Regions from separate parts of the Homo sapiens genome. Here regions 2 and 3 are each linked to region 1. The links are contacts of gene promoters, found by promoter capture Hi-C in human tissues and cell types (Jung and others, 2019). All regions are on one chromosome and are shown on one strand. The core of a region is centred on a gene start or on the middle of the fragment in contact, and the rest is flanking DNA. Distances in the headings are between cores, read along the strand shown. Region 1 overlaps GFPT2 (glutamine-fructose-6-phosphate transaminase 2). Region 2 holds the start of SCGB3A1 (secretoglobin family 3A member 1). Region 3 holds the start of TBC1D9B (TBC1 domain family member 9B).

Region 1 (4,135 bases), core at 754-3,253:
TCCTGTCCCCACGGAATTATTTTGAAGCCAGTCCCAGACATTATATCATTTCTTCTGTAAACACTTTACCATAGAGCTCTAAAACTATTTTAACCTACTATAATACCATAATCATATCTAAAATGAATAGTTGTTCCTTTATATCATCAAATATTCAGCATGTTTACATATCTCCAATAATCTCACGGCTGTCTTTTTATAACCGGTTTCTTCAAATCAGGATCCAAACAATGTCACCTCTGGAAGATACTCGAGAACCAACACATTATTCTGAATCGTGAAGGGAAAGAATAAAGCATTTATCTCGCCTTTCTAAACAATCTGTCTTTCAGAACAACCACATACTTTATGAAGGCAAGTTTCTCTAAGAAGTGATACAGCTAGTAATGAAGAAATAATAGAAGAATCAATTTATGAACTCCTAATTATTAATAGCTCTAATCAAGGACCATTCATGGCTGTTGAAACCAGAAGGTAAAAAGCTGGACGAAGCTTTATCATGGATGGATAAGGCTGGCAACACTCAAACCCCTGATGGCTCTTAGCACAAAAAGAGAGATGGTGAGACATCACCCGCCTCCTGATGGAAGGACACACCACCAACTATGTAGTCTTGCCAAAAAAAATCAAACCTGAATAAGATCGAGCTTTTAACACTTGTAAACTCCAGCGTACAGGAAACACAGGGGACAGAGGAAGATGGTAAATGACACCAGGGGTTGCACTCAGCAAAACCCAGACAATGGGAAACTCATCAGGACAAAAGACCTAGTTTCTTACACACACACACACATACACAAAGGAGCCCTAAAAGTAGTCTACAAGCTATGCTTACCAAAGAAACATAGGGTCATTGTGTTTATTTATTTATTTATTTTGAGACAGAGTCTCGCTCTGTCGCCCAGGCTGGAGTGCAGTGGCGCGATCTCCACTCACTGCAAGCTCTGCCTCCCGGGTTCACGCCATTCTCCTGCCTCAGCCTCCCGAGTAGCTGGGACTACAGGTGCCCGACACCATGCCCGGCTACTTTTTTGTATTTTTAGGAGAGACGGGGTTTCACCGTGTTAGCCAGGATGGTCTCGATCTCCTGACCTCGTGATCCGCCCGCCTCGGCCTCCCAAAGTGCTGGGATTACAGGTGTGAGCCACCGTGCCCAGCCCATTGTGTTTATTTTTATAACTTTCTCTGTATGGAAAAGAATAATGATTTTTTTCCCTTGAGATCATAATACAAAGTATCTTTTAAAATCATTTTAAGTTTGAAAAGTTGCTAAATGAAAAAGAAAGGTGATTAATGGTATATAGTTGTGGTATAAACCATCAGGTTGGGCTTGAAGGACTACTGGAGAAAACACTCTCGGCCGGGAGCCCTGGCTCACACCTGTAATCCTAGCACTTTGGGAGACCAAGGCGGGAAGATCACCTGAGGTCAGGAGTTTGAGACCAGCCTGGCCAACATGGCAAAACCCCGTCTCTACTAAAAATACAAAAATTAGCCAGGTGTGGTGGCGGGCACCTGTAATCCCAGCTACTTGGGAGGCAGGAGAATCACTTGAACCCAGGAGGCGGAGGCTGCAGTGGGCTGAGATTGTGCCACTGCACTCTAACCTGGGTGACAGAGCAAGACTCCGTCTCAAAAAAAACACTCTCATTCTATCAAGAGCCACACCCACACGTGACTGCCTGAAAATGAACACTTAAACTCCTGGTGCAAAGGTAAAGAGAGAAACCATCAAGGTCTAAGGCTCTAAAAGACGTATATCCAGCCAGATCCTAGGGAAGAAAGAGAAAGAAAGATGGCAAGCCACTGTACTGGAAAAAATATTTTAAACAAAACTTTGTATAAAAGTATACAAATAACTTCGTATGCTTTGTATAAAAGTGTACAAATAACTTCGTATGCTTTGTATAAAAGTGTACAAATAACTTCGTATGCTTTGTATAAAAGTGTACAAATAACTTCGTATGCTTTGTATAAAAGTGTACAAATAACTTTGTATGCTTTGTATAAAAGTATACAGAGCTTTATACAAAATTTTGTATAGAAATATATTTTTTTGTATAAAAAGTAGAAACATGGAGTGACAAGAAGTAAAAACGGCCCTATCCTGTCTCCGAGAGATCAACACTGCTTCCATTGTAGCATTAACCAACCAACAATGCATGACGCATGTGTGTTTATATTTATGTGTGCATGTACATGTTTGTTTAAATATAATTATTTTATTTCCAAAATGGGTAGTCATGTAATCTAGTCATTAAAACCAATGGCCCACCAGTTAGGCTTGAGGTGGACTCGGGGCCTCTGTCACTTGCCAGACCTGTGCCCGTGGGCAACATACATAACCCCCTGGAGTTCCTGTCTCAGGTTCCGCCTCTGTAAACAGAAAAGAGCTGTGCCTTCCCCAGAGGTCTGTCATGATTATCGCATGGGATCCTGGTGAGGCTCTCATACCGTGCCCCGCACACACTGGCCACCGTTGCCCAAAAGCTGGACAGTGTGCTCACATCTGGGAGGGCCACCTGCCATTCCTTTCTCAGCATGTGTTGTCTTTCTTATCTCTACACTACACGCGACAGAATCACTTCCTGAAGTTCCAAAGGCATAAACAAATAAAATAATATGGAGGGTTTTGTTTTGTTTTGTTTTGTTTTGTTTTGTTTTGTTTTGAGACGGAGTCTCGCTCTGTTGCCCAGGCTGGAGTGCAGTGGCGCGATCTCGGCTCACTGCAAGCTCCGCCTCCCGGGTTCACGCCATTCTCCTGCCTCAGCCTCCCGAGTAGCTGGGACTACAGGCCTCCGCCACCACGCCCGGCTGATTTTTTTTTTGTATTTTTAGTAGAAACCGGGTTTCACCGTGTTGGCCAGGATGGTCTCGATCTCCTGATCTCATGATCTGTCCGCCTCGGCCTCCCAAAGTGCTGGGATGACAGGCGTGAGCCACCACGCCCGGCCTGGACAGTCTTAATTACAGCACAGAATTCACAGAATAATTTGGGTAGAGTCAATATTTTTTAAAAATAACTTGTAATCATTAAATTAGTTTTAAATGTTGAGTGCATTAATTTTTGAAAATAGCTACTCTGGAAGCTGAGGCAGGAGGATCCCTTGAGTCCAGGAGTTAGTTCGAGGACAGCCTGGGCAACTTAATGAGACCCTGTCTCAAAAAAAAAAAAAGAAAAGAATAGTAAGCCTTCCTACTGAGGAATGTGGAATCTCTTCCTATATTCAAATCTCTTACTTCCTCATGGTAAATTTCTGTAGACTTCTCCAAATATGTTCTAGAGTATTTTTGTTAAAATTTACTCTAAAGCATTTTTTTTTCCAGCTGTGGTGAATAGTATTGCTTTTTTGGTTCACCTAACGTTTGCTGACTGCATCGTGCCTGGTCACGTGAGGTGACACCTGAGAATAAGGTGGACAAGGTCCCACTTGAACCAGATACAGCTTAGTGGCTAAGGCCAGGATATAGGATTTCCACACCTTTACTCCCAGCTGCTAGTACTATCAGTTCTAACAGCCTTTTGGCTGGATTTAAAAATGTGTAATAGTATTGCCTACAAATAATTATTTCCTCTCCTTTCAGGCATTCATGCCTTTTTTTTAAAAAAAAAGAAACATCTGGATGGGCGCGGTGGCTCACACCTGTAATCCCAGCACTTTGGGAGGCTGAGGAGGGCGGATCATGAGGTCAGGAGATGGAGACAATCCTGGCTAACACAGTGAAACCCCATCTCTACTAAAAATACAAAAAATTAGCCGGGCGTGGTGGCGGGCACCTGTAGTCCCAGCTACTCAGAGGCTGAGGCAGGAGAATCACTTGAACCCAGGAGGCGGAGCTTGCAGTGAGCCGAGATCACACCACTGCACTCCAGTCTGGGCGACAGAGTGAGACAAAATAAATAAATAAATAAAAATAAAAAAAGAAACATCTATCATATTTCATTGAATATAAGTTACTATTGATCGTTAAGATCACAATTATTTGACAAACTTCTAAGAAATAAAAGCTTCAACAAATTCTAATGGTACTATGCCAAAATCTACAATTCTCCGTGTTTTAGAATCACTGAAATAATACCAGCGTCTCGTTGGTATTCTCGGCGTGTTCTAAGGGGCACCATTTGGGAAGCGCT
Region 2 (4,142 bases), core at 244-2,743, 270 kb after region 1:
CTCCCTCTCTCACGCAGCACCCCTCACAAAATCTGGGACTTGGCACTCTCGGTCCCCCACAGGGATCAGCATTTGGATGAGAAAATACCAGGCTCGAGCTGCTCTTAACCACGTTTATTGAGAGGGGCCGGGGGAAGGGGATGGACGGTCCTCCCCGCGGCGGGGTTTTCAGCCCTCGCGGGTGGGCAGCGTCTTGTCCTCAGGTGTAGATGCTCCAGTCTCGGCTCAGCCAAACACTGTCAGGGCCCCCTGGAAAGCAGAAGCCGAGCTTGAGTGCCCCCAGCCCTGCCACCAAGAACTCAGGCGGGGGCGCGGCAGCGGCCGGCTCTGTGGGGAGCGGGAGCGGGGCGGTTCCGCTGGCGTCTCCGGGGGACGCGCACCCGCGCGGGGCCATCTCCGCCTTCCCCGCCCCTGCAGCTCGGATGCGCCCCACCCAGTTCCCACCCGGAGACCCGGGCTTCTCCCAGGGACAGGGCTTGGAGGGGCAGGACGGGAAACAGCCCTGACGTAGGGCCGGGACACCTCTGGTGCAGTTTTGAGGCTGGCCGGGAAGGGATGCCCGCGCAGGAAGGGCACCCGGGGTGCCCACTTTACCAGCAGGGCCTTCAGGGCCTTCACGGCCCCCACGGCCTGGGGACCCAGCTCAGCCACACACTTCTGGGAGCCCTCTATGAGGTGGTTCACGGGGATGCCCAGGCTGCTCAGCAGGAGCTTCAGCGGGTTGAGGGTGCCGAGGGGGTTGGCCAGGGTCCCGGCCCCGGCCTCCGCCGCCGACTCCAGCGCAGCGACAGGCTGGGCCACAGGCTTGGCCGAGCCCACTAAGAAAGCAGCAGCTGCAAGCGAACAGGGAGGGGTCACCGCCTGCGCGCCGGGGTCCCCAGAAGGCAGGTCCAGGACGCGCCCCCGCGGGAGGCGCCCAGGAACCGTCGCGCCCTGCCCGGCTCCCCGACCGCCCCTCCCTCCTGCGCCGAGGCCTGCCAGGTGCGAGCCCCCGGGACACAGGCGGGTCTGGGGAGGCGGCCCCGCCAGGAGACGCTGCAGGGTCACCGGAGTGGCCTGAGGGTGGCGGAAGGACCGGTGAACTCTGTGCAGGGTCCGGGACAGGCCCCCAAGGGAGGGGACACTCGCGCTGCGCCTTGCAGGATGAGGAGCCGGTCTCCAGACGGGGGGCAGACGGGTGTCCCCAGGCCAGGGGCGGCCTCCATCCCGGCACGAGGCTGGAGACAGCCCTGAGAGGGGGAGGCCGCGGGCTGCAGGCGCGGGGCCCCGGGGTGGCGGAGCCCTCTGGGCGCCGGGCGAGGCTGGAAGGACCTGGGATCCACGATCGGCGCAGGCAGCGGCGGGGGCGCAGCGGGCGCCGAGGCCTCAGGCCCCACCGTGCGCGCCAGGAGCCCGGGGCGCTCACCGGAGCTGCAGGACAGGGCCACGCAGAGCCCCAGGAGGGCGGCGAGCTTCATGGCGCGGGGGCTCGGGGCGCGCGGGGAACCTGCGGCTGCCCGGGCAAGGCCACGAGGCTTCTTATACCCGGTCCTCGCCCCTCCAGCGCCGGCCTCGCCCGCGCTCCTGAGAAAGCCCTGCCCGCTCCGCTCACGGCCGTGCCCTGGCCAACTTCCTGCTGCGGCCGGCGGGCCCTGGGAAGCCCGTGCCCCCTTCCCTGCCCGGGCCTCGAGGACTTCCTCTTGGCAGGCGCTGGGGCCCTCTGAGAGCAGGCAGGCCCGGCCTTTGTCTCCGCGAGGCCCACCCCGGCCCGCACCTTCGCTTTGCGGTCTGACCCCACGCGCCCCCCTGCAGGGCTGGGCCCGGGTGAGGGGAGCTTCCCTCGCGCCAGGGCAGGGGCGGGGGCGGCGCAGTTCCTGGCTCCCTGGTCCCTGCCTCTGATCCCAGACCGTGGCAACGTCGGGCACTGGGGGTCCTCGTGGGCGCCTTCTGCGCCTGGGGAGGTGGAGGCGCCAGGGACGATCAGGCCTCACTCCCGGCCGCCTCCCCGGCCGGGCCACAGGCAGCCACAGTGCAAACAGAAGTGGGGCGTTTTTCTGTCTTCGAAACTAGCCTCGACGCCAGTGGATGGGCCTGGTTTGTTCCTGAGTTTCTCTAAATGTCCTCACTCGTCTGTCACCTGCAGAAGTATGACAGATGGAGAGCAAAGCACATTTTGAAAACTTTTGCAAATGATACATAAACTAATTTGCTTTTAGTCCTTCTTCTTTCCTCTATTTTTTGACCCCAGGCATTGAGCACTGAGTGACTCACGTTTTGCTGCGTGGCTGCTCTCAGCTAGGTTGGTGCAAAGTCTCTCTTTTCTTTTGTAAAGTGTAGCTGGCACGCGTGGGAAACAGGCTCCCGGGTGGGAGGACCTGACTCTTCAGGCAGTGTCCTGGAATTCCTTCCCTATGGCTGACAGCACGTCTTAGCCCTCAGCCACCCCGAGCTACTGCGGCCTCCTCCGCACCTGCAGACACTTGTGCCTTTGCCAACTGTTGTGGCCAGGCACACGCATTCACACTGTTTCTGTTCACTTACACTTTTCCTTGACTATTTTGTTTGGGGGATTTTTGCATTATAAATCTGGAGTTTGGTTGTGTTTTGTTGGTCATCATGGAAGTAATTTTAATGGGAAATACGTTTTCTTTTTTAAAAACAGTTTGAAGTTAATTACTTTTTTGGTGGTGGTAAAGACACTGTCTTGCCGTGTTGCCCAGGCTGGTCTCGAACTCCTGAGCTCAAGCAATCCTCCCACCTCAGACTCCCAAGTAGCTGGGACTAGAGGTGTGAGCCACCACACTCAGCGGATTTTGATTTTGTTTTTTGTTTGTTTGTTTTTTGAGACAGTCTCACTCTGTCGCCCAGGCTGGAGTGTAGTGAGGTGATCTTGGTTCACTGCAGCCTCCACCTCCCAGGCTCAAGCAATTCTCCCACCTCAGCCTCCCAAGCAGGTGGGGCTATAGGTGTGCACCACTATGTCCAGCTAATTTTGTTTATTTTTTGTAGAGACAAAGTCTCACTGTGTTGCCCAGACTGGTCTTGAACTCTTAGCCTCAAGTGATACTCTTGCCTCAGCCTCCCAAAGTGCTGGGATTACAGGTGTGAGCCACCACGCCTGGCTTGATTTATTTTTATTTTTTCTAGAGATGGGGTCTCGCTACATTGACCAAGCTGGTCTCAAAATCCTGGCCTGAAGCAATCCTCCCGCCTCAGACTCCCAAGGTGCTGTGATGACACGTGTGAGCCACCCCGCACAGCCCAGCTTCACCATCTTAAGGGCACACTCCATTAGCATTAAGTATATTCTAATGTTGTGCAAACATCACCACAATCCATTTCCAGAACTCTTTTCCTCTTATAAAACTGAAACTCTGAGCCTATTAAACAACTCCCCACTCCCCTCCCCAAGCCCTTGGCACCACCATTCCACTTTCTGTCTCTGAATCTGGCCACTCCCGGCACCTCATATGAGTGGAATCGGGCAGTGTTTGTCTTTTGTGTCTGGCGTATTTCACTTAGCATGATATCCTCCAGGTTCATTCATGACCTTCAGAGTTTCCTTCCTTCTTAGGGTAGGATACTGCTCCATTGCATGGCTGTGCCACGTTTTCTTCACCCATTCACTTCACCCGTGGGTGGACATGTGGGCGCTTGCATGTTTTCACTGCTGTGAGTAATGCGGCCGTGAACACGGCTGTGCAAATGCCTCTTTGGGACCCTGCTGTTGGCTGTTTTGGGTGGCTGCTCAGAGGTAGAATGGCTGGAGCCTGTGGAACTTGCCTGTGTCATTTGTGAGGATCTGCCATCTCTCCCATAGCAGCGGCACCACGCTGCCTTCCCAGCAACAATGCACAAGGATCCCAGTGTGTCCACAACCTCATGATGCTTGTTCTTCTCCTGAGCAGGATCTGGCAGCCTTGGCCCAAGCAATCCCAGTGGGCGCATCTTGGGAGCTGACTTTGGGGCCACCTTTCCCCATGCTGCCTGGGGACCAGAGAACACTGACCGCGGGAAAGACCGATGCTGCCGAGGCCAGGAGGAGGGGGAGGCCGTCATCTGTGGGTCCCCAGCAGCGCTTGGGGTCCTGGCCACTCCAGCGGCCCCTTGCACCTGCCTCCAGGGATCCTTTGTCTTCAAAATAACCTCCCTCCACCTTCCGG
Region 3 (4,592 bases), core at 200-2,699, 410 kb before region 1:
TGCCGAGCACAGCACAAGTGTTTCAAGTACACCAGCGAATATGACACACTGGCGCGCTGATGACACCCTGGCGCGCTGGCGGAAGAAAAGGTGCCGGTCCCTCGCTTTCTTCATCGGGCTTGCAGTAGCTTCGAGGTTAGCCACAGGGGCTGCCGACTGAACAGCTGGATCTAGGAGGCGGGTCCAGAACAGGAGCCCGAGATCCTTGAAGCCCACTGGGAGGGAACCCGAAGCTGAAGGGAACACTGAGTGTTTCTGGGAACAGAACAGTCTCTTCCACATGAAGAAACGTGGCCCAGGAGAAGCCTCCGTCTGCATCTGGCTATTAGCTGCTCACACTGAAAATCAGGATGATTCACAGAAAATGCTCTTGATAAACTGGACGACCTGGCAACACTGGGACCGCAATCCTGTAGGGCAACAGTCGGTGCCCCGAAGAGCACAGGCACTGAGCCCGAGCCAGCCGGGCTCCTGCAGTGCTGGGCGCAGGCCCTGGAGCATGAGGGGCCCCGGACACCACCTGCGGAGGGAGTGGCCTGTGGGCCTCCCCTGGATCCCACAGGCCGCACGACTCCAAGGGTGCCTGTCCAGCTTCATCCTGTGTGATGGTGGCACCCGGGCCCACAAAGGGCCACCTTGGCGAGCTTGCAGGAACACCCTGTGCCGCTACCCACAGCCTTGGGTGCGCAGCTCTGAGAGCAGCCAGGAGCAGGAAAGGTGGGGGAGGAGAAGCTGGGGGAATGGGGGTGCGGCCAGCTCCAGGGACCTCTGATCTTGCTAAAAGGGCGATACTTTGGTGAGATGGGCACGAAGAAGAGGGCAAAAGAAAACGTGCGCTGGCGTCACCTGGCCCCTTAGAGGCACCTGGGGAAACTGAGGTGGAGGATGAGGACAGGGCGGTCTCGCCAACTTTCGGCGGTGAGATCCCGGGAAGCTGCACGGCCCCCGGGGCTCGCGGGCGCCGAATCCGGGCAGAAGCCGCCGCCGGTCTCCACTTGGCCGCCCCAAGCCGACCTGAGGAGAGCCCGCCGAGGGCGCATTCGCCTCCCGCCAGCCCCTCGCCTCCCCGCCCCGGCCCCTCCGCGCCCGGCTCCCGGGTCCTGGCCTCGCGCCCCCGCCCCGCCGCGCGCTGGCGTGCGTGTCCGCCGCGACGCGCCGAGGCCGGGCCGGAACCGGACCCGCCCGCCGCCCGCCGCCAGCCCCGCCGCCAGCCCAGCCGCGGCGCCCACAGGCCCGGCCGCCCGCGCGCCTCTCACCCGTAAGGCCGCCGCCCCTGCCGTGGCCCCGGCGTCGCTGCAGCACGAAGAAGGGGTTGGCCCGCTCCGTCACCCACAGCGCATTGGCCACCAGCACCTCCTCCGGGCTCAGCCACATCGCGGAGCCGCTCGCACCGGGCCGAGGCCCGCGAGACGGAAGCGCCCGCCGCCGTCGGCGTCCCGGAGCGGAGCGTGCGGAGCGGAGCGTGCGGAGCGGGCCGGGGCGGGGCGGGGCCGGGCGGGCGGCGCCCCCTGGCGGGCGTGTGGCGCTCCCGCACGCGGCCCGAGTTCCGCGCCGCCCCCTCAGCCCCGGCCTCGGGCGCGCGCCAGCCTGGCCTCCTGGAGCGGTGCAGCCCACGGCCTCCGGCCTGGGTCCAGAACGGAACGGCCCAGTCCGCAGACAGGGGAGCCGCTGTGCAGAGCAGGGCTTCTGGCGTTTTGAAAGCTGTGCAGTGTGAGAGAAGGATGTCAAGAAGCAGAGTTTGGCGGCTTTTGGCTGGTTGCGCGTGCAACCCGGGGCGTGTTAGCACTGCAAAGGGCGCCTGGAAAGGGTTTGCAGTTCCTCCTAATTCTCAGCTTTCTTTTCTTTTTTTTTTTTCGACAGAGTCTTGCTGTGTCGCCCAGGCTGGAGTGCAGTGGCGCAATCTCAGCTCACTGCAACCTCTGCCTCCCGGGTTCAAGTGATTCTCCTGCCCCAGCCTCTTTAGCTGGGATTACAGGCTCCCGCCAACACGCCCGGCTAATTTTTTTGTATTTTTAGTAGAGACGGGGTTTCACCATGTTGGCCAGGCTGGTCTCGAACTCCTGACCTCGGGTGATCCGCCTACATTGGCCTCCCAAGTCCTGGGATTACAGGAGTGAACCATCGCGCCCGGCCAGTTCTCAGAATTCTGACACTGGGGCCGGGAGACTAGAAGAATCTTCCAGCGCAGGGCAGGTGCCAGGAGGCCCTGATACGGGCTGCATCCTTGGAAATCAGTGCTGCCCCTCCCCTGACAGACGGGTCACAGAGGCTGGCCGGCCCTGGGGATGGGGTCTGGACTGGCCCTGGGCCCAGTGGCGGCTTCTGCGCAAGTGTGAGGCTGGCTGCAGGCGAATGCGGGTCCCTGGTCTCCCAGTGTTGGCCTGCAGGGGCAGCGCCAGTCCACACACAGCCTTCTGCATGAGGGGGCTGTCAACTCCACCTGGGACAACGGGCCTGGGGCCTGTCCGGGGTCGACTGGGATGTGGGGTCACCCTGCTGGCTGGAACCCTCACCAGGGTCTGGCTAGAGGGCAAAGGGAAGGGGGCAGTTAAACCATCCTTGGAGCTGGACCTGACTTCCAGGTGGGTTTCTGTGATTGGCACTCAAGAATCTTGGTGCGATGGATGTAGGTACATGCAGTTGACACCCAGAGTGATCTGCAGTCTTCTTCAATGTTGCTGGATATAGGAATCAGCTTTCAAGATGCAGAGGCGGGCTTTCTTCAACACCTTGGAAGTCTGAACTAATATTGTCATTGTGCTCTCTAGAGGGAAAGAATTTGGAAGAACTGCACTTTTTAACACCCTGAGAGGAGGTAAAGAGTCGTCTTGTTCCTTAATCCCAGTGGTTCTCAAATTGGGTATACATTAGGATCACCTGGAAGGCTGATTCAAACAGGCTGCTGTAGTCCCAGCCACTTGGGAGGCTGAGGTGGTAGGATCACTTGAGGCCAGGAGTTCAAAATCGGCCAGGGCAATATAGCAAGACTCCATCTGAAAACAAAACAAAACAAAAAACAGCCACACAGGTTGCTGCCCCCTCCCTCCCAGGGTGTTTGCACTGCTAACTCGTTCCTAGGTGATGTTGATGCTGCTGACCTGGAGACCACTCCTCGAGAATGGTTTTTTATAAGAAGAAAAAGAACAAACATTTATCGATCACTTAGTATGTGCGTGCTAAGCTTACTTCTTTTTGATTTTCTGAGATATAAGTCACATTCCGTAACGTTCACTCTTTTAAAGTGCAAAACGTAGTGGTTTTTAGTATATTCACTAGGCTGGGCATCCATCATCACTAATTCCAGAACATTTTTATCAAGTCAAAAGAAACCCCTTACCCATTAGCTGCCATTCCCCACTTCCCCCCGGCTTTGCCCTGGCAACCATCAATCTATTTTGTCTCTATACATTTTTCCCATTCTAGCCATTTCTTCATATAAATGGAACCTTACAATATGTGGTCTTTTGTGTCTGTCTTCTTTCACTTCCCATCATGTGTTCGAGGTTCACCCACGTTGTAGCACGTATTGATGCTTCATTCCTCCTTATGGCTGAATAGTACCCCACGGTATGGATGCACCGCATTTTATTCATTTGGATGGACATTTGGATTGTTTACCCCTCGTCTATTATAAATAATGCTGCCATGAACATGTGTACAAGTCTTTGTGTGAATATGTGTTTTTAATTCTCTTGGGCATATATTGAGGAGTGGTATTGTTGGGTCATGTGGTACAGCTATGTTTAACTTTTTAAGCAGTGACCACACTGCGCTCCAAAGCAGCTGTAGCATTCCACATGCCCACCAGCTGGGTGTAAGAGTTCTAGGCAGGGCGCGGCGGCTCACGCCTGTAACCCCAGCACTTTGGGAGGCCGAGGTGGGCAGATCACAAGGTTAGGAGATCAAGACCATCCTGGCTAACACGGTGAAACCCCGTCTCTACTAAAAATACAAAAATTAGCCGGACGTGGTGGCATATGCTTGTCCCAGCTACTCGGGAGGCTGAGGCAGGAGAATTGCTTGAACCCGGGAGGTGGAGGTTGCAGTGAGCCGAGATCACGCCACTGCAACTTCAGCCTGGGCAGCAGAGTGAGACTCCGTCTCAAAAAAAAAAAAAAAAAAAAGAGTTCTAGTTTTTCCATATCTTGTCAACACTTGTTATTGTCTTTCTTTTTTTTTGATGCTCATTTCTAGAGGGTGGGAAATGGTATCTCGCTGTGGTTTGGATTTCCATTTCCCTGATGACTGATGATGGGCTTTTGGGTTATTTGTATATTTTATCTGGAGAAATGTCTATTTGGAGAAATGTCCTTTGCCCATTTAAAAAATTTTTTTATTTTTTTATTTTTGAGACGGAGTCTCACTCTGTCGCCCAGGCTGGAGTGCAGTGGCATGATCCTGGCTCACTGCAGCCTCTGCCTCCCAAGTTCAAGCGATTCTCCTGCCTCAGCCTCCCAAGTAGCTGGGAGTACAGGTGCGTGCCACCATGCCTGGCTAATTTTAGTATTTTTAGTAGAGAGGAGGTTTCACCATGTTAGCCAGGATGGTCTCGAAATCCTGACCTCAAGTGATCTGCCCGCCTCGGCCTCCCA

What was found. The method cuts DNA at HindIII sites, captures the fragments that hold promoters and counts their contacts. A contact is called where the count stands out against the background at its distance.
Region 2: the fragment with the promoter of SCGB3A1 here is called in contact with a fragment that was not itself captured in region 1 in 1 of the 25 tissues and cell types used here (liver).
Region 3: the fragment with the promoter of TBC1D9B here is called in contact with a fragment that was not itself captured in region 1 in 1 of the 25 tissues and cell types used here (dorsolateral prefrontal cortex).

Annotation. Positions count from the first base shown.
Region 1 is chr5:180,319,133-180,323,267 of GRCh38, forward strand. The region is part of intron 9 of GFPT2 (glutamine-fructose-6-phosphate transaminase 2); the gene reads right to left. Among named protein-coding and RNA genes, the nearest start is that of MAPK9, 29 kb to the left of the region's middle. RefSeq lists an enhancer at 3,997-4,135. The HindIII fragment of the contact is 5,502 bases long and covers 1-4,135 here.
Region 2 is chr5:180,590,006-180,594,147 of GRCh38, forward strand. SCGB3A1 (secretoglobin family 3A member 1) reads right to left here and starts at 1,494. Exons shown (of 3, transcript NM_052863.3): 1 at 1,406-1,494; 2 at 595-833; 3 at 100-249. The coding sequence starts at 1,457. The coding sequence ends at 226. It overlaps LOC124901154 (a long non-coding RNA gene), which reads left to right and starts at 3,165. Exons shown (of 2, transcript XR_007059088.1): 1 at 3,165-3,204; 2 at 3,888-4,142. RefSeq lists enhancers at 1-355, 356-1,025, 1,026-1,695. The HindIII fragment of the contact is 36,128 bases long and covers 1-4,142 here.
Region 3 is chr5:179,906,448-179,911,039 of GRCh38, forward strand. TBC1D9B (TBC1 domain family member 9B) reads right to left here and starts at 1,450. Exons shown (of 21, transcript NM_015043.4): 1 at 1,257-1,450. The coding sequence starts at 1,374. RefSeq lists an enhancer at 404-1,181 and silencers at 1,062-1,111, 1,162-1,301, 1,312-1,371, 1,442-1,601. The HindIII fragment of the contact is 17,290 bases long and covers 1-4,592 here.